7 separate regions of the Homo sapiens genome follow, and all the other regions are linked to region 1. Evidence: promoter capture Hi-C in 16 types of primary human blood cells and fetal thymus (Javierre and others, 2016). All regions are on one chromosome and are shown on one strand. Each heading gives the region's core, a stretch centred on a gene start or on the middle of the fragment in contact. The rest is flanking DNA. Distances are from core to core; before and after follow the strand shown.

The links. The method cuts DNA at HindIII sites, captures the fragments that hold promoters and counts their contacts. A CHiCAGO score of 5 or more calls a contact.
Region 2: a fragment that was not itself captured here is called in contact with the fragment with the promoter of TMEM263-DT in region 1 in 1 of 17 cell types (fetal thymus); the score reaches 5.5 in fetal thymus.
Region 3: a contact is called between a fragment that was not itself captured here and the fragment with the promoter of TMEM263-DT in region 1, in 14 of 17 cell types (naive CD8 T cells, M2 macrophages, total CD4 T cells and 11 more). The highest score is 11.0, in naive CD8 T cells.
Region 4: a contact is called between a fragment that was not itself captured here and the fragment with the promoter of TMEM263-DT in region 1, in 12 of 17 cell types (naive CD4 T cells, non-activated CD4 T cells, fetal thymus and 9 more). The highest score is 11.2, in naive CD4 T cells.
Region 5: a contact is called between a fragment that was not itself captured here and the fragment with the promoter of TMEM263-DT in region 1, in 16 of 17 cell types (fetal thymus, naive CD8 T cells, naive CD4 T cells and 13 more). The highest score is 26.7, in fetal thymus.
Region 6: a fragment that was not itself captured here is called in contact with the fragment with the promoter of TMEM263-DT in region 1 in 8 of 17 cell types (naive CD4 T cells, fetal thymus, naive CD8 T cells and 5 more); the score reaches 11.0 in naive CD4 T cells.
Region 7: a contact is called between a fragment that was not itself captured here and the fragment with the promoter of TMEM263-DT in region 1, in 14 of 17 cell types (naive CD8 T cells, fetal thymus, total CD4 T cells and 11 more). The highest score is 11.9, in naive CD8 T cells.

The regions. Positions count from the first base shown.
Region 1 is chr12:106,953,629-106,957,065 of GRCh38, reverse strand. TMEM263-DT (TMEM263 divergent transcript) reads left to right here and starts at 1,571. Exons shown (of 1, transcript NR_185933.1): 1 at 1,571-3,437. It overlaps TMEM263 (transmembrane protein 263), which reads right to left and starts at 1,159. Exons shown (of 4, transcript NM_152261.4): 1 at 1,001-1,159. RefSeq lists enhancers at 212-271, 1,201-1,495 and a silencer at 772-1,531. The HindIII fragment of the contact is 6,686 bases long and covers 1-3,437 here.
Region 2 is chr12:107,613,333-107,617,329 of GRCh38, reverse strand. It overlaps ABTB3 (ankyrin repeat and BTB domain containing 3), which reads right to left. Exons shown (of 17, transcript NM_001018072.2): 7 at 2,168-2,269; 8 at 148-241; 9 at 1-29. Among named protein-coding and RNA genes, the nearest start is that of PWP1, 70 kb to the left of the region's middle. The HindIII fragment of the contact is 1,509 bases long and covers 1,508-3,016 here.
Region 3 is chr12:106,409,139-106,412,744 of GRCh38, reverse strand. POLR3B (RNA polymerase III subunit B) reads right to left here. Exons shown (of 28, transcript NM_018082.6): 12 at 1,785-1,919. Among named protein-coding and RNA genes, the nearest start is that of POLR3B, 53 kb to the right of the region's middle. The HindIII fragment of the contact is 6,628 bases long and covers 1-3,606 here.
Region 4 is chr12:106,337,701-106,341,568 of GRCh38, reverse strand. It overlaps TCP11L2 (t-complex 11 like 2), which reads right to left. Exons shown (of 10, transcript NM_152772.3): 9 at 571-743. Among named protein-coding and RNA genes, the nearest start is that of POLR3B, 18 kb to the left of the region's middle. The HindIII fragment of the contact is 4,948 bases long and covers 1-3,868 here.
Region 5 is chr12:106,369,953-106,373,395 of GRCh38, reverse strand. All of the region lies in intron 6 of POLR3B (RNA polymerase III subunit B), which reads right to left. Among named protein-coding and RNA genes, the nearest start is that of POLR3B, 14 kb to the right of the region's middle. The HindIII fragment of the contact is 4,830 bases long and covers 1-3,443 here.
Region 6 is chr12:106,310,372-106,314,315 of GRCh38, reverse strand. It overlaps TCP11L2 (t-complex 11 like 2), which reads right to left. Exons shown (of 10, transcript NM_152772.3): 2 at 3,084-3,275. The coding sequence starts at 3,240. Among named protein-coding and RNA genes, the nearest start is that of TCP11L2, 9.6 kb to the right of the region's middle. The HindIII fragment of the contact is 7,236 bases long and covers 1-3,944 here.
Region 7 is chr12:106,390,303-106,393,853 of GRCh38, reverse strand. POLR3B (RNA polymerase III subunit B) reads right to left here. Exons shown (of 28, transcript NM_018082.6): 10 at 701-823. Among named protein-coding and RNA genes, the nearest start is that of POLR3B, 34 kb to the right of the region's middle. The HindIII fragment of the contact is 6,020 bases long and covers 1-3,551 here.

The sequences.
Region 1 (3,437 bases), core at 322-2,821:
AGCAAATAATCACATATAGCAAATATTTTCATTTGGAATTAGCACAGTGTTCACAAGGACGCAAAAATCAAATTAAGAACCCTTCCCTTTTCTCTAGGTGTTTCTAAACCCTTCCGGGTGGCCCCTTCTCTCCCTACTGATCCCTTTAGGCACTAGCAAATCTTTTTTTTTTCTTTAGCAGTGAGTGACGTGGCAGGAGGCAGAAAATGACCCTGGAGGCGCCGTGGCTAGCACTGAGCTTGGCACCTCCTCCCTCCGCTCCACGTTGTACACCCAGCACTCCCCCCACTCCCGAAGGGCTCCAGAATTTCTATGTAAGAAGGGTTTAGGACAGGCGATCTGATTGGAAGTGGGAGCTGGGGGGTCGGTCTTGAAGCTGCGTGTGCAGAGCAGGCAGTTTTTATTTAGACTGGGAGGCAGTGACGGCACGGATGGGTGCTCCAGCCCTCCCTGTCACCCCTGGGCGCGGCCAGCACCCTCTCCATTCCCACTTTTACTTTAGGTTAGGCGTGGAGATACAGCCTTCCTACCCAGGAAGAGCTATGGGGGTGTCCACTGGGAAAAAGTCTTGTGTGCCTGAACCCAAAAGGGAGGTTTAGCAACAGGTCAGGAGTTGGCAGGGCGAGGAAGCCCGGTACCCAAGCCCCTCCGCTGCATCCCTCTCCCAGGCTGCTGATGCCCCTCACCTTCCTCCTCCGCCCCCAACCCCGAACCCCCAGATGCTAAGAAGTCAGGCGGAGGCTTTCCAGGGGTGCGCAAGCTCCAATCGCGGCGGGGCAGTCAGCGACGTATAAGGAGGAGTAGCCCCAGAAGCGAACCTCCATCCGCCCCCAACTTCGTCCCGCCCCTCCCCCTTTCCCGCTGGGGCCTCGCCAAGGCCCCGCTGGGCAGCCAGGCCGGGCACTGGGAGGTGAGGGGCAGGGGCGCCGACGGCAGAGGGCGACGGAGGAGGGCAGGAAGCCGGGACTGCGCCCCTGCCCTCGCATCCCGACTCACTCACCGCCGGGGTCGCGGCCAGCGCTAGGGCTGGGGCCGGGCGGAGTGAGCGGGCCGGCGCAGAGGAGAGCTGAGGCGGCCTGGGCGGCAGCGGCGGCCGGCACAACCCCGGGCAGTCGCGGCTCCAGAGGCGTCCTCTCAGGATGTGGAGCTGGAAGACTGTGGCGGCGGTGGTGGAGGCGGAGGCCTCTGGCTGCGGACGTGGCGCCCGACGCGACCCGCCCCCTCCGCCGCCTCCTCAGCTCCCGCCTCCTCCCGCGGCTCCAGTTCCGACGCGCACGCGCGCTCGTGCAGCCCGGGCCCCTCCCGCGCCCACCGGGCACACGCCCACCCGTTCTCGCAGGGTCCGGCCCTCCCAGCAGTCCCCAGCCGGCTGTGTCCCAATTGCGCACGCGCGACGCTCCGAGGCCCGCTCCCGCCCCTTCGCCCCCTGGACGCCTCCGTGGGAACCCCCGGCCGGCCTGCGCGCCCCTCCTCCGGGGGTCTCCCCGCCTTCTTCCCGCCACCATCCAATCAAATCGGGCGAGGGGCGCGAAGCCCGGGAGACGCGTAGGCCGCGGCCCCCAGGCCCGGTGTTTTGACGTCGGCGGTGCCCGCGTTCCGCGCCGAGTAACGGTCTTCGGAATTCAGAGCCTTCGCCTTAGGGAAGGTGGGACGGTCGCCAGTTTCTCCAGCACTTTCTTCGTCCAGGGACGTCAACCTCCCTTGCATGCTGTCCTCAGGGACTGACAGCGGGGCCTGCTCAGAAGTTCTCGTCGGGACTCTCTACAGGCCTTTGTGATTAAGTGCTAGGGGTGAGGAGAGACGTGGCTTATTTATGTGTTTTTCAGTTTGTTATGATTTTTTTTTTTTTAATTTTACTTCTCCCTGCCCTAGAATTGAGCTCCTTGAGAGTAAAAACCCGCCTGGGTCGCCATCACCCTAGGCTTGGTGCAGGGCCTGCCAGGCGCTCGAATTTGTTGAAGAGGTGGGTGTTCAGTATCGAAAGAGCCGCGGATTGTACATTAGAAAGCCTGGCTTTGCGCCGCGTCCTTGCCACTTGCTGACCAGGCCCCTCCACGTGGTCCCCGCCGGGGCAGCAGCTCTCCTCACCCGTCCAAAGGCACGGGGAGGCGCGTGGCGGCCCCGCCAGAGCTGAGCCCCCTGGGATGTGAGGCCGTCTCGCTCTGAGCTTCAGAGCAGGGTTGCAGGAGACACCTCAGAAGGTCGTTTTGAGGACGGGAGGAGATGAACTGCTCAAAGCCTGCTTAACTAGATAAATGGTATCGATTAACTTTTCTTTGACTCCCTTTCCACACCTATAAAATGAAGATGACGGGAAACTTGTCATACTTTTTTTGTGGTGGGTGGGAAAGGTCTTTATGAACTGTGAAGTCCTATGCAAACGTGAGATGTTTCCTTTCGCAATCTGATTAGCGAAGCAAAAACACGCGAGTCAAAAACATACACAGAAAGCAAAAAAAAAAAATTCACAAAATGGTTTATCAACTGCAGAATATTCAGGATGGTGGAACTGAATGGTAACTACTGACAACATAGCTCAGAAAGGACGTGCTAAAACATGCTGGATGAAGCTAACTTTGATCCAGGTCTTAAATGGAATGGACTATAGTTTATAGCTTCAACCTAATCATTAACTTATGAAATCAGAGAATTAAGGCCACTTAAGCCACTGTGCTCAGACTGTCAAGATATTTAGTTTCTCAAAGCAGAAAGAGGAAATTAAATACTCTTGTCAATTCAACATATGGGTTGGATGATTAGCAGGATCCGTGGATTGTTGTTTATCCAGTATGTGAAGAAACGGATATCCTCTGTTTTCTCGTTATTACACAAACTTCTATCCTTAATATGTGACCTTTCAAGGTTGAACTCTAGGTAAAATTATGAAGTGCACAATTACGTCTTGTTTCTTCTTCCCTTTGCACGTCGTTTTACAAGAGAATCTAATTATTATTAAAGTACAAATGACTGACAAGATTGTAGCCACTCCTGGGAGATTTTGCATTTTTACGGTTATTAAAAGCCATAACTCAAAGCAGCAGTTGAATCTGTTTCATAAACTAACTAAGATTTAAAAGAGCTCCTTTGGGAGGTCATGAGTTCATCAGAAACTTCTGGTGTAGGAGTTCAGCCTATAAAACAAACAAATACATGACTTGTAGTATTTCTTCGTTTTATAGTCTGAACTCCTCTAAGTTCTTGATTCCCATTCTGTGACCTCCCTTTCTTAGATTGTTAAAATAAAATACAGATGACTCACGCCTTTAATCCCAGCACCTCGGGAGGCTGAGTCGGGAAGATCACTTGAGCCTAGGAGTTTAAGACCAGCAAGGGCAACATGGGGAGATCCCATCTCTTAAAAAAATAATAATAATAATTGAGCATGGTGGCACCCTCCTGTAGTCCCAGCTATTTGGGATACTGAAGCAGGAGGATTG
Region 2 (3,997 bases), core at 1,013-3,512, 660 kb before region 1:
CAACAGCAAACTAACCAGCTCAAAATTTCCTGCAAGCCCAGAGAAGGGGGTTTTATAAGAGAATAAAGCAAAAATATAGTCACAGGCACTTCAAGGGCCAGGGTGCACTGGAGCTCCCTGGCCAGGGTGAGAACCAGCAGCTCTTACCTACAGCAGCTGCCAGCTGGAGGGGTGTTTCCGAGTAGTTCTCCTCGCCATGCTCCACTGAGCCTTCCACCTTGGCCCCAGCATCCAGGAGGAGCTGCAGAGGAAGAGCGGCCATTGAGACGGTGAGAGGAGATACACTGTGCACAGGTGTCAGGAAAGACTGCTGGGATGGGTGAGATGCCAGCACTCCTTCCCTCCCTCTAGGTTGGTGACAGCGTGCACAGGCTGGAGGGCAACTGTACCCTGGAGGATGAACTGAGAGTCTCTCATTGCTGCTAGGCTACTCGGAATGTGTTCCATGCATAACAGCATCAGCACCACCTGGGAGCTTGTGGGAAATGGTGACTCTCAGGCCCCACCCAGGTCTACTGAATGAGAGTCTGCATTTTAACAAGATCTCCAGGAGATGTATACATATATAAACATTTCTAGAAGCACTGGGCTAAAGGTTCTTGGCACAGGAATGCTGGAAGACTCCCCTCCTGGGCTGGTTACACAAAGCCTCAGAGGGCACTAGGGTAGCCTCGTAGAACCACAGACTCTCAAGAGTTCTGAAGGACTTTGGGGGTCTCCCGGGGCCCCACCTGGATGGCCCTGAGGACAGTTTAGCAAATGCTAAGGTTTCTGGACAGCAAGATCAGTTAATAAAGTGGCAGAGTGAGCTTCCAGAAGTTTTGCTTCATAAGACTTCATTCTGTGCATCCCCTGAGATAGCTGGGCTTCCTAAAGAGGTAGGGATGCTGTCCATGCCTGGTCTCATTCACAGTGAATGTGCTGTCAGCACTGCTGATGGAAAATGGGGGAAAAATCTGCTATCTTTACTGCCTACCTAGGGCTCCCTGAGGGCACGGCCATGGGGGAGCCACCTACTTGGCACTCCGTGATCGCTGGCCCTGCGGCAGGGTGGTTGCCTGACTTCTGTGTGGCTTTGCTTGGCTGCTTACTGTTCCCATTCCTGATTTAAAGGTCGGGAATGTCCTTGCATGTTAAGGAATGACATCTGTGTCCACCAGACCACCAACCGACCCCTTCTTTCTTAGTTTCCTCTACCAGGAGTGGACTGGGCATACTGTTCTATAGGCAGAAGCCAGCTCTCAGTGTGACATGTCACACTGTGAGCCTCCTGAAACATGACTTGGGATCTGTTCTAAGGATTCTCATGACCCAGGAAACAACAAAGGATTCCCATGAAATTCCAGCATTGCAGAGCTGTCCCTGCTCTGCATGGAATCAAGAGGCATGGACCACACAAAAGGAGGTGAGTTCCTGATGTGCCCAACCTCAGCACTCACTACAGGACCAGGTGCAGTCATGAACTTGGATGCTGATCTCTCTTTTCTGATGAAGTAAAGATCAAGCTTATGATTTAGAATGTACCGTATGGCTGTTCACTGAACACCAACTCTACAACAGCCAGAAAAAGTACAAGCAATACATATTTATATGCCCAAAGGACCTCCAATGAGGACATGTCACTGTGCTTGGAGCTGTTTCAGAAGACACATGGCCAAGGCCCTACTCTAGACCTCCTGGACCTGATTCTCAAGAAGTGGGATCCAAGCAAGTGTCTTTTGGAAACACTCCCTTGATGTCTTGGATGCTTCTTCCCACTGGCTGGAAACCAATGGATTCTACACAAACACCAGGGGTCACACCTAAGGGAAGGTTCTAAGGTATCAATAGCAACCAAATCTCATGTTCATGTTGCGACAAGCAAAATGAACAAATCCACAAAAATAGCTGAAGCCCCACCCCAGAGCAACCAGGAAGAACTTCATGGGTCTGTCACTCTGTGTGTGAGGCTGTGTGTGGATATGTGATCATTTCATATTGGTTAAAGCCTGGCCATATAGATCATTACATATAATATTTGTATTCACATGATATGAATATACTATATTGAATTGCAGTTAACCAATATGAATGTCTTAGAGAATATGCATGCTGGGAGAGGTATAGATGTGTGTTATGGAAGAGGTAAAATCAAAAGTCAGATGTGGATAGGGAAATACGTTAATACCTGAACTACAGGAATATGTCCATGCAACACAGCAAAAGTCAGAGCCGTCCAATGGCGGGTCTCGGGGTGGACGGATGGATATTTATGAGGAGTACTGACAACCTATAAACAAATTGAAGTTATTTTCAAAATGTGACCTTCACAATACTTAGGCTAGCAAATTTGACGTATCTGTGGCTGGGCACATGGGCTAGAGATGGACAAAAAGACATCCTGGAAGATGCCTCGGGAAGAGCTGGTGATACAGGGCAGGGATTTTCCACTGCTGGATGCTCCAAACACCTCTCACCAAAGCCGTGGATCTGTCCTGCTTGTGTTTGTAAGAACAGAGACCAAAGCAATCCCCCAAAGGCAGGACAATGGAAGTCCGTGTTTTGGAGATTTTACCCTTGAAGGCAGTGAGAAAATGTCTCAGTGACTTTATGTCCTTTGTGCATAAGAAGGACTCCTTCACTTCTCCTCTGAAAGGAAGTAATGGATGATTCTGATCGCCTCTCAGGTGCTTTGAAGAAGCTGTAATGGCAGTTACAATGAGCTAGCTTTCTGGCCTGTCCCCTTCTTCCTTCTACCTAGCAGAGGGTGGTGGTTCTGGGAGCTACAGGATGTCAGAGAGCATGAGATGCCACTACCATGCCATCCACACTTTTAAGAGAGATTCTCAGTGGTGGCAAACCCCAGGCAAGGGACTGTCTGCTTTCAGCTTTCAAGCCAGGGAAGTCCATCACTCATCTGATGGAGGAATTTCACCATCTGATCACAGCTGGCCCCACCCTGTTCTCATTTCACTCTTCTGCTGGCTTCCTGGTTGACAAGGACCCTCTTGCACTACCGAAATATGGGCACAAAGCTTTCCCAGGACGCATCATGAATGAACAATCTGAGATTGGTCTTTCAGGATGGAGGCCTAAAAACACTCCAGGCCAAGAGAGAAGAGACAGGGCAGCTGAAGGCCAGGGTCTTGCAAGATCAGCACCCACATGGAGCTTTTCTCCCAAACACTCCTGGGGTCATGTAACCTCAATGCCTGCTTCACTCAGAGCAGTTTGGTTCACTAAGCATCCACTGGAGGAAGGCCTGAGCTGAGATCCGTGGGATGGGCTAGAGAGGACCCGAGAATGCTCCAGAACCCAATGCTGAGGACCCCTTGCGTGGGTCTGCATGGTGCTTAAGGATTCATAGCAGGAGGGAAAATCCCCACAGATTCCAAATTTATAGGATCCAAAATGATTCTGGATCCAAAACTGTGTCTATTGTCTGCTTTCCTCAGATAAATATAAAACTCACATTAAAAAAACACACACACACAGTACTGAGACTGCACGGGCATCTAATTTTGAACTGAAAAGGTTTCCCAGGGTTGCCGAGTTATGATTTCAGCCCGTCAATCTCTTTGCTGTCTGATACTGCCAATATCCTGCCGCCAGGGAGAGCAGGTCTTCAGGCAGCATAGAACATGGTAAAAAAGTGATATTTCACCTATGACGAGGTTGGGGTGTGGGTGGAGGGACCAATATTAACTGAGTTCCAAACCTACTCTCTATATCCCTTCTGACAACTATATGAGATGGGTGCAATTATTTTCCCGTTCTGCAGATTGGGAGAGAAAAAAGGTTAAGGCACTTGCCCAAGCACAAAAGCAAGTCACCATGGCAGCGGTGGTATCAGAACTTGAACCCAAATCTGTCAGATTCTAAGGCCAATGTTGCAAGGGGGAGGGGAGGGTTTCTGGGGGGACATGCTTTCCACCAGACCACATTGTCTCAGGGAAGCTCTGAGATTAGCTTTAAGATCTGTCAACTCAGGCAACAAGGTGAGCCAAAGAGGGTTTGG
Region 3 (3,606 bases), core at 50-2,549, 540 kb after region 1:
GCCTGCAAATGGCCAATAAAATGCCGCTGAGTACAGATTTGGAGGTTGAAAATACATTTTAGCAAGTAGACAAATTTGCAAATATGCATAATGTGGCTCAACTGTATAAACTGGATGAAATATTAGATAAAACAACTACTTGAAATTCATTGAAAGAGTATCAGGAAGCAGAAAGAAACTGAGGAAAAGGAATGCTTATCAAAAGCAAATGGTTCTGAGTGAGTTTCCTGTTTTATGGCTTTTCACCTAAGGGCAGGCAGTGATCCCTGTCAAATCAGAAGGCTAAAACATGAGAAAGTAAGTTGCAGTCTTACTGGATTGAAGAACCAAAAGAAAAAGATCTGAGCTACCTCAACAGCTAGAATGTAAGTGAGGAAATTCCAAATTCCACATTTAAACTCTATCTAAATCCCCAATTGACCCAAGCTACAACTGAAAGAACTAAATGAATATTTCAGCTGATGTTTGCTGCAGGAAGGCAGGATTCAGAGGTTTTCAGCCAAGTTCAGAGGGTCTTAAAAAAAAAACAAAAAACTGGGACACTCTTTAGAGGAATACAGCAGAATTCAGAGCCTCCACAACTTATCCACAATGTCTATCAGGTTGCAATCCAAAATTATCAGACATAAGAAGAAACAGAAAAACATGAGCCACATTCAAGAGAAAAGCTAATGAAGAGAATGACCCACAAGTGACTGAGACGTTGAAATTAGCAGCAAAGGTTTTAAAGTAGCTATTAAAATACAAGGATGTAAATAAAAATAGGCTTGTGATGGATGAACAAATACAAAATCTCTGTAGAGAAATAGAAGCTATGAAAAAATACCTAAATGAAATTTCTAAAACAGAAAAATACAATATCTAAACTAAAAAATTAACTGGAGCTTTTTAGTTACTTGCTAGCCAAAGATTTTTGGATGCTTGCTAGCCAGTTGAAAGAGATACACAGTCTTGAAATAAAATGTCATTTATCAGCTAAGACTTAAAATGAGATTAGAGATATCCTCACTAACCTACCTCTACCATGTCACCAAAACAATCAGCGGATTGTTTCCTTGATTATTGTCTCTCTCCCTTCCACTGAGACTACAAGGAGTAAGAGAAAAGGGGCTTTTGTCTGTCTTACTCCCTCTTATATAACTAGTACTTAGGAGTATGCCTAGAACATAATAGGTGTTTAGTAAATGTTTGTTAACTGAATAAATGATATTACTTAAAGTCATACTTCACTTTGTATATTATACAGAATGAGGGTAAACATCCCAACAAAAGATATAGGTCACGTACTATTAACATTTAAAGAATTAGGCTGGGCATGGTGGCTCACGCCTGTAATCCCAGCACTTTGGGAGGCTGAGATGGGCAGATCACCTGAGGTCGGGAGTTGGAGACCAGCCTGACCAACATGGAGAAACCCCATCTCTACCAAAAATACAAAATTAGCCGGGCACGGTGGCACATGCCTGTAATCACAGCTACTCGGGAGGCTGAGGCAGGAGAATCGCTTGAACCCAGGATGCCAAGGTTGCAGTGAGCTGAGATCGTGCCATTGCACTCCAGCCTGGGCAACCAGAGCAAAACTCCGTCTCAAAAGAAAACAAAAAAAAAAGAATTAATGTTTTTATAGTTAAAGGAATTCTAGGAGATAATAAGTCAGGTATGAAATGTTTATACTTCAAACCTGCAAACTATATTTCATTCAAATGTTTCTTCTTATGTGAAATGAAAACCAAATTAATTTTCATTAAGGAAAACAAGATTTCTGACATAAAATATTAAATCACCTGTCCTGCCAATTCCAGTCGCTTGTTACCATAATAATCTCTGTCGTCAACTTTATTATCTCCTTGGGCCAGAATAACTCTTCGCACCATCACTGCAGTATAGATACATTTGGCTCGGAAATTGAATTCCTTAACCTGTAAGTCAGAAATTGGAGAAAAATTTTGAGAAAATGGACATTAAAATTTAACGTACCTCAAGAAAAGTATCAATACTATAACATTCAACTAAGAAAATACTGAATTGTTATGATTCTCTCCATTCAAATAAATTCAACTAGTCTGGAAATTTCCTGAGCTGAGATGATGACTTTTCATCATTGTCCTCAGTAACCTGTGAGTACCTCTGTGTCAAAGATGACTACATCAACTTCTTCCCTTCATATAAACTTCATGCCATTCCTTCATTAAAGGTGGAATCTATCACTCCCTTGGGATTGGCCTATGATTAATTTAACCAAGAGAATACAGCTGAAATGATACCAGCCAATTCCAGAATTAATCTTTAAGTCAACTGGCAGTTTCCTCTTCCTTTCTCTTAGAGTCCTGAGACACTAAAGTCCAGAACGCTCTGTTGCACAGAGAGAGAGGCTACATTTCATTTAGTAAAATCCCAATGAAATGGAAAATCAAGGAGGGGCCAGAGATATGAGTGAAGATGCCATCTTGAATGTCCAGCCCAGGTGAGCTTCCAGATGACTCAAACCTCAGCTGCTATCTGTCTGCAACTTTGTAAGAGACCTGAAATGAGAACTCCCTCCTCCACCTTAAGTTAAACCCGGTCAAACCACAGAATCATGAGATACACAATGAACAGTTACATTAAGCCACTAAGTTTTAGAATTGTTTGTCATGCAGTGATAACAAGAATTGTACTAACATGCTGTCTGGCATGCAACAAATAACTGCCGAATGAATGAACAGATGAATGAATTTGTAGCAAATGTTCTAGTCAATCTTCTCTAGCAGAAACACTGAAACCCATATGAATGAATCTGGCTCAATCATAGTAAGTTGACTCAGAACTGATAAAATAATTGCACTGGTTTGTTTGGAGAGACAAAAAAACTGAAGTAGATCCTACATCTAAAAAGACAAATTTTGAGAATGTAGCCTGAGCTTCTGCCAATTCCAAGGAGTATTTATAGGCTTTTCCACAGATGATACATACTATTTTAAAATTTCTTCTTTACTTACCTTAATCATTTAGTAAAATCCCAATGAAATCTCTTTTATAAAATTTATCACTATGACAATAAATCAATAGACTGCATTCAAAAAAAAAAAAAACAAGCAAGCATTCTCCTTCATACATTTTGTTGTTGCTGCTAAGTAATTTCACTAAATAATGTAGGATGTTAGAATTCTGTATGTGTTTCAAATACTCCATTTTCCTTCAAAGGAAGTTTTATTTCTTCTCTAGGTCAATTTACTCTCTATTACTGAGAACTCTGGAATGTGTTAAAAGAAATGTGTTTGAATGTGGTAAAAGAAAAAGTAGCCCTAAAAGCTACTTTGTTATCTTGTACCCACAAAACAATTACATCAATAAGAAGGTCTTTAAAAAGAAAAGGCTCTTGTCCATCCTCAAGAAAAAAAAAAAAAAAACAAAAAAAACCCTCTTACAATCGTAACACCAGTTACCACAAAACCAAGCAGAAAAACTCAGTGTCTGGGCAGCTATAAGTAATTTACATTTTCAATTGGTATTTCGAAAGCTGTATGGTCCTCCATTTAAGTATATATAATTTACATTTTATTGTTCTAATCTTAATGTGGCAAGTTACATGGAACATCTAACTCTTCTAGTTGTAGTTATCTTTCT
Region 4 (3,868 bases), core at 518-3,017, 620 kb after region 1:
CATTTTGTTTAAGCTAGTTTAGAAGTTTAGATTCTTGTCACAGGTAGCAGAAAAAGTCCTAACTGATACATTATCCATTTTCCCAACTCACCAACACAGCTTGACTTTGAGACAGTCAATTTCCTGGCTGACCATTACAAAAAGAAGCCTACACACTATGTCTCCCGGATCCACACATTTTTAGTCTTTGTCTCTTTAAGCCTGACCAAGTTCCTTCAGAGCTGCTCACAGCAGAACTCATATCTACTATCTGTGAACATACTGCCAGCTGGTTTGAATTACTGCATTGATCTAGGATTTTAACATTACTCCAGCACTCTGTTATTCTTGTCATAAAATCTATTGGCTGAATAGATAATAGGCCCTGAAACATCCCCCAACTCCATGACACACAGAAGCAGCAATGAGTCCTAGGCCTTTGAAAACATTAATATTTCTTGATATTTTCAATATTTATCCTCCAAAAGTGGGTAATGTGTTTAAGATCAAAATTTGACTGACTTAATGTTAGTCAAAATCAGCAAGTTAAAGCAAATTGGAATTGAAGCAGAAATCAATAAAAGGACTCACCAATCAAGGACCAGATAGGATTGTCCTCCTCTTCAATGCTTGAAAATTGACCTATAAGATTAGCTTGAATCTCAGCATTTAAAGTGGGTAAACCTCTTTCCATCAGGGTCTTGTTAACCTCAACACAAGTCTGAATACCAATAGAATTCAGGACTTCCTTCAAGTTAAAGGTCCTATGAAACATAAAATGAAATTCCACCAGGGAAAGTTTTTGTTCATCAAGTTATTATTTTTAATATACAGACTTGTTTTAGATGTCTACCAAATTTCTCTTATACAGACAATAATAACCTCTATTAGAATGAACTCATAAAATAGTAACTCCTCCCAACCACCAACCTTCTGATGTAGCAGACTTCTAAATGCTTAAAATCATTAAATTGTGTAGCAGTGTTTAAATAGAAAAGCATAAGCAGAAAATGTGGTCCCCAAAAATGCACCTGCAACCCCATTTATATTGCAGGGCTATCAGAAAGGGACAGAAAACACCAATTTACTTCTTAAACTTGTTGGTCTGAGTGGATTCATTCACACATTTTAAAAAATGCACTTGATAAATGAAGTAGACTCAATTCATCTATGCCTGAGCAGTAAATCTATAACACCAATCAAAAACAACAAATGAAGATATTCAGAGGTCAAATACCTAGAACTTTTGGCTGATCATGACCAAGGATAATAAGCTCCTTCACATTATTCAAGTAACTGATAAATAATCTCCAATATATAGAGTCCAGAAAGTTGTAAAGGTAATTAAAGAGTGAGTTATTTAGTAGGTAAGGAAAAATAGGTAATTAGAAAAGGCATTTGTTGGGTCCACACTATTAGGGAAAGATGACTGAAAATTTTATCTCACTATCCAGAAAAGGTCCTTAAGATAACTCTGCAAAATGGGAATTAAAGGATGAGAGAAGGGCTCAATGATAGGAAGCAGTATAACGGAGCGAGTTGGAACATAAGCTATGGTGTTATGTGGAGCTGGGTTCAAATCCTGGCTCTACCACTGAACTTCTATGTGTCTAATATTTAGCTCTTAGCAGATTATCAGGCACATGGAAGAAGGAAAAGAGAAAAATAGGTTATCATGTTTATCATCATTAACAGCAATAAGAAATAAGTTCTTGGCATTCTGCCTTGACTGGAATTTGTTATAAGCCCACACTGGACCTGACGTTGGAATTCTGTAACCCAAGGATAGACTGATTGTAATAAAATTTTTACCTTCCGACTTTTTATCCACTACAATGTACTGCCCTAGATTTTTCTTGCTTTTAATCAGTGAGTTCTTAGGCTAAAGGGAAACTGGCTAGCCATATGCAGAAAATTGATACTGGACTCCTTCCTTTCACCAGATACAAAAATCAACTCAAGATGGATTAAAGACTTAACTATAAGACCTTTAAAAACCCTAAAGGAAGACCCAGGAAACACCATTATGGACATAGGCCTTGGCAAACATTTCGTGATGAATTACCCAAAAGCAAATGCAACAAAAGCAAAAATAGACAAGTGGGACCTAATTAAACTAAAGAGCTTATGCACAGCAAAAGAAATTATCCACAGAGTAAACAGCCTATAGAATGGGAGAAAATATTTGCAAACTATGCATTCAACAAAGGTCTAATATCTAGAATCTACAAGGAACTTAAACACTCGACAAGCAAAAAACGACCTCATTAAAAAATGGGCAAAGGACATGAACAGATACTTCTCAAAAGAAGACATACATGTAGCCAACAAGCATCTGAAGAAATGCTCAACATCACTAATCATTAGAGAAATGCAAATCAAAACCACAGAGAGATACCATCTCATACCAGTCTGAATGGCTATTTTTTTCTTTTCTTTTCTTTTGAGACGGAGTCTCACTCCGTCACCCAGGCTGGAGTGCAGTGGCACAATCTCGGCTCACTGCAACCTCTGCCTCCCAGGTTCAAGTGATTCTCCTGCCTTAGCTTCCTGAGTAGCTGGGACTACAGGCATGCGCCACCATGCTCGGCTAATTATTTTTTGTATTTTTTGTAGAGACGGGGTTTCGCCATCTTGGGCAGACTAGTCTTGAACTCCTGACCTCAAGTGATCTGGCTGCCTCGGCCTCCTAGAATGCTGGGATTACAGGTGTGAGCCACCGTGCCCAGCCTGAATGGCTATTATTAAAAAGTCAGAAAATAACAGATTCTGGCAAGGTTGTAGAGAAAAGAGAGCACTTATACACTGCTGGTGGGAATGTAAATTAGTTCAGCCACTGTGGAAAGCAGTTTGGAGATTTCTAAAATAACTTAAAACAGAACTACCATTCAACTGAGCAATCCCATTACTGGGTTTATTCCCAAAGGAATAGAAATCACTCTATCAAAAAGACACATGTACTCATATATTCACTGCAGCACTATTCACAACAGCAAAGACATGGAATCAACCTAGATGACCATCAATGGTGGACTGGATAAAGAAAATATGGTATATGTACACCATGGAATACTATACAGCTGTAAAAAGAATAAGATCATGTTCTTTGCAGCAACATGGGTAAAACTGGAGACCATTATCCTAAGCAAATTAATTCAGAAACAGAAAACCAAATACCACATGTTCTCGCTTATAAGTGGGAACTAAACACTGAGTAAACATGGACATAAAGGGGAACAACAGATACTGGCTCCTACACTTAAAGGTGGAGGTCTGGAGGAGGGTGAGGGTTGAAAAACTAACTATGCTCACTACCTGGGTGATGAAATCACTGGTACACCAAACCCCAGTGACCCTCAATTTACCCACGTAAAAAACCTGTACATGTGCCCCTACACCTAAAATAAAAGTTGAAAAAGGGAAAAAAAGCAAAAATCAATTAATCAATAAATCCTCTTTCAGCTCTTCAAAAAAAGTTGTCTTAGCATAAGCCATGCCTTCTACTCACAATGAAGAGGGAAAAACTCCTTCTAGTTTTCAAGATGCATCATCAAACCCAATATAAATGACATCTTGGTCTATTATTTAGTACTATCCCTTTTTTTAATACTATGAATGCTATTGCCCCATCCGTAATGAGGATAATTGAGAATTGATTGTATTGATTTCCTAACACAGGAAAAAAATTTAAACAATGAAACAACCAGATAAACAACCAGATACAATTATAAAGAGGATGATTTAATGACTAGTTATTAATAGCTAGCATTCATTGAGTACATATTACGTGCCACACATCTGTACCTGAATCATCTTAAGTTCTCACAACTCCAAGGTAGATATTAATACAATTATTATTCCCTTCTTACAAGTGAGGAAGTCAGGCTCA
Region 5 (3,443 bases), core at 417-2,916, 580 kb after region 1:
ATGCTAAGAGCAGACAAAATAAGATTCAAGGCAAAGAATATTATAAGAGATAAAGAAGATAAATGTACAATCATCAAAGGTTCAGTTTACTAGCAAGATTTAACAATTCTAAACTTCTATGCACCTAATATCATAGCTTCAAAAAAGCAAAAATACACAAAACCATAAGGAAAATGGAAAAATCCACCATCATAGTGGGAGATTTTAACATACCTATTGTAGTAATTGATAGAACAAACAAATCAAAAAGCAATGCTGATACAAAACGTCTAAACAACACAATTAACAAGTCTGATCTGAAGGAAATACACAGACAATGGCACAAAACAACTGGAGAATACCTCTTGTTTCCAAATAAACATGAAACATTTATAGAAACAGGTCTCTACAAAGTTCCAAAAATTGACATAAAGCACCAATTGGGAAATCTTAAGTCTTCTAAATAACTCACGTTAAAAGGGAAATCGTAATGGGAAGATAGAAATAAGAATATTCTCATTTTATACCAAGGGAAATGAACATACTGACTAAAGTTATGTAATATGACATGAAGATATAAGAATATTTCAGTTACTACAGTAACCAAAAAGATAATTAAAAACAAGAAGGAAAAATTGGAAGACGAAGGGAGAAGCAAAGTGGGTGACACAGGTAAGCTAAGCCACATCCCGTATATCAGGAGGGAAAAAATAATGTCTACAGTTAATGTATTAAGAAATAGAGGTCAAAGCATCGCATTTAAAGTTATGGATATTGGCCACGCATGGTAGTTCGTGCTTGTAATCTCTGCACTTTGGGAGACCGAGGCGAGTGGATCACATGAGGTCAGGAGTTCATGACCAGCCTGGCCAACGTGGTGAAACCCTGTCCCTACTAAAAATAAAAAAAAAATTAGCCAGGCGTGGTGGCGGGCACCTGTAATCCCAGCTACTCGGGAGGTTGAGGTGGGTGAATCACTTGAACCTGGGGGGCGGAGGTTGCAGTGAGCTGAGATCATGCCACTGTACTCCAGCCTGGGCAACAGAGTGAATTCCATCTCAAAAAAAAAAAAAAAAAAAAAAACACACACACACAAAATAAAGTTATGGATGTAATAACCCCCAGAAAAAAATAACAGAAATAGTTATGAAGTTGGGAATGGGACGAAAGGTGAGGAAGGGGAGAGAAGGAGGGAGGTTACTGTTTTGAATCAAATGTTTTTATGTACTGTTTGATTTCTAACCAAGTACAAATATAATTTGGATTAAACTAAAATCTTTTTACTCCAAAAAATAAATGAGATTATATATGTAATTTAGGTAATGCATAGCACATATAAGCATTCTAATGACTAGAGGTCTTTTTTATGAATGCGGAGCTAACAAACAACATTGCCTATCATAGTATGGCACATAGCAGGTATTCAACAAATGCTAGTTACATGCCCCCTCTTTTTATTTTATTTTATTTTATTATTATTATACTTTAAGTTTTAGGGTACATGTGCACAACGTGCAGGTTAGTTACATATGTATACATGTGCCATGCTGGTGTGCTGCACCCATTAACTCGTCATTTAGCATTAGGTATATCTCCTAAAGCTATCCCACCCCCCTCCCCCAACCCCACAACAGTTCCCAGAGTATGATGTTCCCCTTCGTGTGTCCATGTGTTCTCATTGTTCAATTCCCACCTATGAGTGAGAATATACGGTGTTTGGTTTTTTGTTCTTGCGATAGTTTACTGAGAATGATGATTTCCATTTTCATCCATGTCCCTACAAAGGACATGAACTCATCATTTTTTATGGCTGCATAGTATTCCATGGTGTATATGTGCCACATTTTCTTAATCCAGTCTATCATTGTTGGACATTTGGGTTGGTTCCAAGTCTTTGCTATTGTAAATAGTGCCACAATAAACATACGTGTGCATGTGTCTTTATAGCAGCATGATTTATAGTCCTTTGGGTATATACCCAGTAATGGGATGGCTGGGTCAAATGGTATTTCTAGTTCTAGATCCCTGAGGAATCGCCACACTGACTTCCACAATGATTGAACTAGTTTACAGTCCCACCAACAGAGTAAATGTGTTCCTATTTCTCCACATCCTCTCCAGCACCTGTTGTTTCCTGACTTTTTAATGATTGCCATTCTAACTCATGTGAGATGGTATCTCATTGTGGTTTTGATTTGCATTTCTCTGATAGCCAGTGATGGTGAGCATTTTTTCATGTGTTTTTTGGCTGCATAAATGTCTTCTTTTGAGAAGTGTCTGTTCATGTCCTTCGCCCACTCATGCTCCCTCTTTAAACCAGGATTTAAACCCTCAATCTTATGAATTTATGTTTTCCTCCAGTCTCTCTTGCCTTTCCTTCACAATAGTCAATCTAGTTCATAATTTAGCTATGGTCCAAAATTTAACTGGACACAAGTATGGTCCATATACAAGAAAGAAAGAAGTTCTCACCTTAACACTGATAGGCCAGGCGCGGTGGCTCACGCCTGTAATCCCAGCACTCTGAGAGTCCAAGGCGGGCGGATCACCTGAGGTCAGGAGTTCAAGACTAGCCTGACCAACATGGCAAAACCCCATCTCTACAAAAAATACAAAAATTAGCTGAGTGTGGTGGCACACGCCTATAATCCCAGCTACTCAGGAGGCTGAGGCTAGAGAACTACTTGAACCCGGGAGGCAGAGGTTGCAGTGAGCCAACATCATGCCACTGCACTCCAGCCTGGGTAACAGAGTAAGACTCTGTCTCAAAAAAAAAAAAAAAAAACAATAAAACAAAAAAAACACTGATAAACAGTCCTGCTAAAACCAAGATGAACATTTTAATATCTTACTTATTTTTCTAAGTGAAGACTAAGGAGAGAAACAATACAAATTACCCCTTCCTTTGAGGGAAGTATAGGAGGATTTGTTAAACCTGCATGTTTCCATAAAAATCTGGACTTCTAGACCCCTTACCAAATGGTGCCATAATTACATATGCCTGTCTTCCCTGATAGCTGTGAATGAAGGTAGCCAATAGGAACTGTATTTTGTATATCTTTTACTCACCTAAGTACTCAGCATCATACATAAGAAGTGATAGGCAGTTGGTATATATTTATTGAACAAATGGATGTTTGTTCAAAGTGCTCTTAGCACTTTTGAGAGGGGGAAAAACACTTGAACAGAAATTATGTGGACTGAGTTTAAAGTCTAGTACCATTATTGACCACACAATATTGTGGGTTTTGTCCATTTCTAAAGGAGAGTCAATATATTTCCCTAATCAGGAAGGGCAGATTGCAAAAACGCAAGTGGATGCTATCATTTCCAAACTTGTACCAGGCAAATAAGTAACTTCTCCCTTAAATACTTGTAGATGAGAAAAAGTTAAATTCCAGGAAAACTCAATCTCAGAATATACCTATCCACCAAGAAGACCTGTCCAGGAGAGTTCACTGAAA
Region 6 (3,944 bases), core at 1,354-3,853, 640 kb after region 1:
TTGTCATCCAACGAAGCCTCCTGATGCAGATAAGGTTTAATTTATCAGAATGTATATACTTCAGAGTTTTATAGGTCAGGAGACTATATATTAAAATAGGTGAATTCCCTCAGTTAATAAAGGCTTCAAAAATTTAAGAACTCCTTCAATAGCTTCAGTTACCATATTTGATAACATTGTCTCAAATATTTATGAGACCAACTTATTAATATAGGCCCATTATAAGTTACTTTTAAAAATTAAATTACCAGGCCAGGCGCAGTGGCTCACGCCTGTAATCCCAACACTTTGGGAGGCCGAGGCAGGTAGATCATGAGGTCAGGAGATCAAGACCATCCTGGTTAACACGGTGAAACCCCGTCTCTACTAAAAATACAAAAAAATTAGCCGGGCATGGTGGCGGGCACCTGTAGTCCCAGCTACTCGGAAGGCTGAGGCAGGAGAATGGCGTGAACCCAGGAGGAGGAGCTTGCAGTGAGCCAAGATCGTGCCACTGCACTCCAGCCTGGACGACAGGGTGAGACTCGTCTCAAAAAAAAAAAAAAAAAAAATTAAATTACCTCATTTTTAGTGCCCATTGAAATCTGCACTTATTATATGTATTATATAGGAAATTGATAAAATTATTTTTATTCTGTAATTCAGAAGTCTCATTAAGTAAACTCAATATGAAATAACTGATTTTTAAAACCGTAATATTTATTTATTTATTTATTTATTTATTTATTTATTTTTTTGAGATGGAGTCTCACTCTGTTGCCAGGCTGGAGTGCAGTGGTGCAATCTCAGCTCACTGCAACCTCCACCTCCTGGGGTCAAGAGATTCTCCTGCCTCAGCCTCTCGAGTAGCTGGATTACAGGCACATGTCACCATACCAGGCTAATTTTTGTATTTTTATTAGAGACGGTGTTTCGCCATGTTGGCCAGGCTGGTCTCGAACTCCTGACCTCAGATGATCTGCCTGCCTTGGCCAAAGTGCTGGGATTACAGGTGTAAGCCACCGCACCCAGCCAAAAACTGTAATTTTTAAATGTATAGGCAGTATAGTATAAACACTTAGGTTCACTCTGAGTTTTGCCAATTGGTATTTATCATTGGATTTCACTGAGGCATAGCCTTCCTCCTCACAGGGTTGGCCTGAGGTGACCGAATGAGATAATTTAAGTAAAGAAGAAGATAGTAAGAACTCAATAAATTTACATAATTAAAAGTAAAATAGAATAAATCTGAGAAGCCAGATATTTTACTTCTCAGTAGGAAATAGTAAATGAAGAATCTGAGTTATTTCTAAAGATTATACTAAGAAACTATTCTAATAAATCATGTCTTTTAAAAATCACTGTTGGAAATCTTAGCTTCTTTTAATTAAAATCATGTGTCAAACAACAGCAGTGACAGGTAATACTTTACTACCTAATTTATTTTTTTTTCCCAAGACAGAGTCTTGCTCTGTCTCCCAGGCTGGAGTGCAGTGGTGCAATCTTGACTCACTACAACCTCCACCTCCCAGGTTCAAGCGATTCTCCTGCCTCAGCCTCCCAAGTAGCTGGGACTACAGGTGCATGCCACCATGCTCAGCTAATTTTTGTATTTTTAGTAGAGATGGGGTTTCACCATGTTGGCCAGGTGGTCTTGAACTCCTGACCTCAGGTGATTTGCCTGCCTCAGCCTCTCAAAGTGCTGGGATTACAGGTGTGAGCCACTGCGCCTGGCTACCTAATTTTTAGGAGAAGATGAGGAGGAGGATCAGGGAAAGAGGAGGAAGAAGAGAAAGGTGATACACAGAATTGGTAAAACCCTTCTTCAGGATGCCTAGGTACCCTGGTGTCAGATGCAACAACACCACATACAGTATAAAGAGTGAGAAAAGGCACAGAAACCTGGGGTGGCTGCTGTTAATTTCTTTTGCCAGGTCTGACTCAAGATTCTCCTTAAAAATGTCTATATACTTTGGTCCAATAATCCAGTGATATCCAAAAGTCTTTCCAGAAAGGCTTCATGCAGTAAGATGTTCATAAAGCACTATTTATAACAGCAAAAAAAAAAAAAAAAAAAAATGGAAACTAAATGTCCAGTGATTAATCAATGGTTAATTTTACCGTACATTCACTTGGTAAAGTAATAAGTATTCATAAAACCAATGTTTCAAAAACATGTAATCATGAGTAAATGTTTTAGTTATAATACTAAGCAAGAAGAGTCCACACACATATACACACATATGTCTATGTGAAGGATAAAGATACGGCAAAGCACTGCCAGCTGTCGTCTTTGAGTGATATCATAGGCAATGTTTTCTTTTCTCTATTCTTATGTATCTTCTAAGTTTTAAAAAATGAGAATGTAAAAATTTAAAATACAAATGAAGCAATTTGTAAGAAGTGGACAGTTCAGCATATTAAACATTAGTTGCTTTTTCCTGCATTTGCTTTGCCAGTTAAAGCTGTTATATTTACTAAATAAAGTGCCAATTAAAAAAAAAAAGGCAAACACATCTGCTTTACCCATCTCTAGTTTCTACATGCAAAAACGGGAAAAAGATATCTCCTTTTGCTGTGGCCTCTCTTTTAACTCTTTCTCACACCCCTAATGTAGTAATTCTCCTTGTGGGTACCTTCCTGGGGTGATTTGCACAATATTTTTTTGAAATCAACATGAAACCCTTTAGATTATTTCACTTCCTTCCTGACCTTTCAATGAAGGCCAGTTTCCTTCAATGTAAATCAGGAATAATCAGAAAAGACCAATTTGAATTTATCCTTCAGTGGAGATCTAAGAAGTAATCTCAAGGAATGGCTTTCTGCTGTTTGGGAGAAAAGACAGATGGGGTTGAAGTCCTGACTTATCATCAGACCGAAACAGATCGGAAGCAGTGATCAAAATAAAAATCAGCAGGTTGTAAACTTTAGTGGCTATTTCTGAGAATGTGTCCCGGAAAGCTGCAGTGCCTCTGCAGTGCTATTCTGGTGCATCTAGAAAGGAGGGGAAGTCTGTTGCTCTCAGGCGTTTCTGAGTTTTCAAATCCAACACATATCTAGAAGTACCCCTGCCACCCACAACCCCTGCTCCCCCATCGGCTCACAAGCAGGAGAGCTGGATTTGCTGGAGGAGTCACTTGCAAAGCTCTGCCTGGAGCATTCATAGTCACTGAGCGAAGCCATGCTTTCGGAAAACCGGGAAGAATCAGAATCGCTTGGCTGGTCCTCTCCCACACACTGCTTCTCGCCATTGAAGGGCATTTTGCGTCACTTAAGTGTGGGTAAAAAGGTAGCACCTGCACAGACAAACAGACCCTGCGTCAATGTTCTGTGGTACTTCCACAGGCACCACCAATGCTTCTTCCAGTGTAGACAACTGTCCCCACAAGTGTCACTGTGTTGGAAAGGCCCCCAGATGACCTCATCCTTCCCCCAGCACCTTGGCCGGACTAGGCCAGATCACTAGGTCATCGAGATTGCCTTTCTGAAAAGGGATTCCACAGCCATAGGTGTGAGCTTACTCAGGACACACCCACTATAAATGTGAAGCTCTAAGTAATGGCAGGTCCTTTTTAAAAAGATGCAGGACACATGCTCTCTCCTCCTGGGTTGCTGAAACATGAGAAGGCGGGAGTGTGGGACTTGGGTCAGATCTCTCGTTCTGTTCTGCCTTTTGCCATGAGACCTTGGGAAGGTCACTTAACTACCTACCTCATAGTGAAACTGGACTGAAAGACTAACCTCTCATTGGGTTGCCAGAAGATTGAATAGAATTCATCTTAAAGAGCTTGGCACAGTACTCAAATGTTAGCTGCTATTATTGCTCCTATTGCTTTGTTTCAGATAAAATAGCTGTGAAATCAGCCTCTTTACGCTTTCTGTGAACCTCCTGGGGAAAGGGGAAGACCGCATGAAACCTCTGGCTGGCAAGTCTTTAGCTTCTTCCCCCTCCATTTCCACATGAA
Region 7 (3,551 bases), core at 277-2,776, 560 kb after region 1:
GGGGCTCCCTCCATGTGGGAAGGGAAGTGCAATTATTTTTACTATGGGGTGTGTGTGTGTGTGTGTGTGTGTGTGTGTGTGTGTGTATTTCTCAGTCTTCATCTTTGAGTCTTGCCCTAAAATTCCCAGGGTCCAACCAGGAGTGCCTGAGCAGGTCAATGAAGGCTCTGCAGCAGTAAAAGGGACTGATCCTGGGTTTTCCTTGCTGTCCAAAGCAGCACTGGGAATTCAGGAAAAGAAATAGAAACCACATACAACTGGATGCCTAAAGCAACTGAAGTAGGGAATAAAAAAAGATATTAAAGAGAAATGCATGCACACATACACACACACACACACACACACACACACACACACACACAAAACCTGTACACGAGAGTTGCCATAGTTTAAAAAGTATATTATCACTCAGGCAAATAAGGAAAAAAAAACAGTACTTCCTATTATATCAAAACAAACACCTCTTCGCCATATATCCCCTATTCTAAGTCGGGCACCATAGGCTCCTAATTTGTCTGGGCAAACTCCTTCCTCCAAACCTGACGAAAGTGAGTTAAAGAAACTTCACTCCTCCCATATCTCCCCAATACCTTTCCCAAATCTATGAGCCCAAAGCCATCACATCCGATGAGCTTTATCAATGAGCAGCATTAAGTCTCCAATTCCATTTCATAGCAAAGGACAACATGAAAAGACACACCTGCATCTGTGTGAAAATCTGAGCTTTCTGGCACTCTTCCAGACTGGGCCCAAATGCAGCCATCACGTGCTCCTCTGTTCCAATCATCTGCACAATTTCCTGGTCACTCTCAACACCCATGGCCTAGGAAGGAAAGAAAAGATAGAAAGAGTGTTGGCTTTGTGTTAACTCACTGACATTTGCTTATGCTAATTTGGCATTGTTTGTGGGTATTACTTCTAAGCAAAAGCTAGCTCTTCTCTCAGAAATGGTGCCATCTGGCATTGGCAGCCTTGCCCAAGCTGCAGAAAAACCTGAAACAGATATTTTGATTAGAAAGTGGAAAACAAACATTCTCAAACATTTTTTGCATGTGTACTATCTGCTAAAATTTTTAAATATTCTAAGAGTTTCATCACGAAAAAAGGAGGCTGGGAGGTATGGTAAAGACAACTGGTCATGACTACAAAGGCAAACTGTAAAGACAAACAGCCAAAAGGCAGTGAATCAGAAAAGATGCATTGCTGAAAATAAGCAGAACCCCAATCAGTCTTGTCACAAAATTAATTTTTCTGAGAACTGTCAAATCACTCATATTTTTCCTAAAAAGGAAAAGAATTTTTCCTAAAACACGTTTTACCTCACTATTCTAAAGATATCAAACCAAACTTCATGCAGGTTTCAAAGGAGACTTAAAAAGTAGGAACACATGGGCCAGGCATGGTGGTTCACACCTGTAATCCTAGCACTTTGGGAGGCCGAGGCAGGTGGATCACCTGAGGTTGGGAGTTCAAGACCAGCTGGGCCAACGTGGCGAAACCTCATCTCTACTAAAAATACAAAAATTAGCCAGATGTGTTGGCATGTGCCTGTAATCCCAGCTACTCGGGAGGCTGAGGCAGGAGAATCGCTTGAACCCGGGCGGTGGAGGTTGCAGTGAGCTGAAATTGTGCCATTGCACTCCAGCCTGGGCAACGAGAGCAAAACTCCGTCTCGGGAAAAAAAATAAGAAAATAAAAAAAGTAGGAATACACTTAAGAGGTTTCAGAAACCCACTTAAGTGTTTCAAGGTGGCAGCAGCAACGCAAGTCTTTGTAGATTCCATATGGTACTAGGGCTCACTCCTTCACACATTTGCCTGGAATTTTGCCATATCAAGGAACACAGCATAATCTCACTAAATCTCTCCTGGAAGAGTAATAGTCAGCTTCTTAGAAGTGAGGGGAAAAGTTATGTTTGCATTAAAATTCTTCCTTCAGCTGTAGAGAAGACAGAACCAGAGGATAATTGTGTAGTTAGTGTTGATGCCCTAGTTCCCAGTTCTCCACACAAAAAAGAAAGGAAGGGAAAATCAAATCCCAAGTTCCAATGCAGAAAATCAAGGACATTATCCTCAGTACAACAGGGGCATCTATCTAAAAGTCCAGAGATCTGAGGTGTTTGTGCTAATATAATACCAACAACACACACAGACATTACAACTACTACTGTCATGCAACCTCTTCGCCTTTGTTTTCTCATTTGCATAAATGAAAAACCAGATCCCTTCCAGCTCAAAATGCTATGATTCTACATTTGACCTTCAGTGGTCTGCATTCTAAAAATTTGATTTGGATACTTTAGGATCCGATGTAAACTTATAGAAAGTTTTGAAGATTTGGGGGAAATCTGAATAGATCCCATGTCCCTTTTAGGCCAACATTGGTGGTTTTAAAAACCTTCATAGATTCTTTGATACTCCCTTCAAAAGGTGGAGACTAATTCCCCACCCCAAGTGCAGGCTAAGCTCAATGCCTCACCTCTATAGAAAAAAATGTGAAGGTGGCACGTATGATGACTTTGAAGGACTGGTCATAAAAGGCACTATAGCTGCCTGCTTGCTCTGTCTGAAAGTGCTCTCTCTGGGGGAAGATAGCTACCATGTCATGGAAACACACAAGCAGTCTGTGGCAAGGTCCGGTGGTGAGAAACTATGTCCTCTTACCAACAGCCAATGAGCACCTGCAGTTTTCTGTCAACTGCCATGGGGGTGAGTTATCCTGGAAGTAGATTCTCCAGGCTGCTTCAGTTCAGCCTTCAGATAACTGCAGCCCTGGCTGATTATCTTTTCTTTTGTTCTCTTTGGTGAAGCGGTCTTGCTTATGTTGCCCTGGCTGAAGGCAGTGGGTATTCACAGGTGCAATCATAGTGCTCTACAGCCTCAGGCTCCTGGGCTTAAGTGAACCTCCCACCTCAGCCTCCTGAGTAACTGGGACTACAGGCACATGCTACTATGCTCAGCTTGTGGCTGACATCCTGGCACATGAAAGACTCTGAGCCAGAACCACCCAGCTAAGCAAGTCTTAAATTCCCAATGAATAGAAGCTATGCTATAATCTGTTACACAGCACAGATAACTAATATACCAACTTTTGGAATTAAATTCACTATCTGAATTTAAAACAATTTATTTTGTTCTTTTTTTTTTTTTTGCAAACAAGTTCTCAGGATGCAAGACCTTTTTCTATAGTTTTAGCAGTCTTTTTTTTTAACCTCCAATTTGATATGGAAACATTTATCAAATGGATACTAGAAATAAGCTCCACTATTTAAAAATTACACGATTTCATTAAAACACTAAGCCTTTCATGGATTAAAAGATAGCAATCCTAAAAAAAATTACCAGTTCTAATTTTTAAACAAACAAAACTAGATTATTCTTAGCTCAAGCACACTGAGTTGCATTTACTTTGATGGTGATGGCACATATGTAAAATCATCTACACTTTCTCTTTGGTCTGCAAGTAGCCAGTCACAAATATTAGAACAGAATTCCTTTCTTTGGTGTTTAAATAATACAGGTTAATTTTCCCTAATCTGAAAATCCAAAATG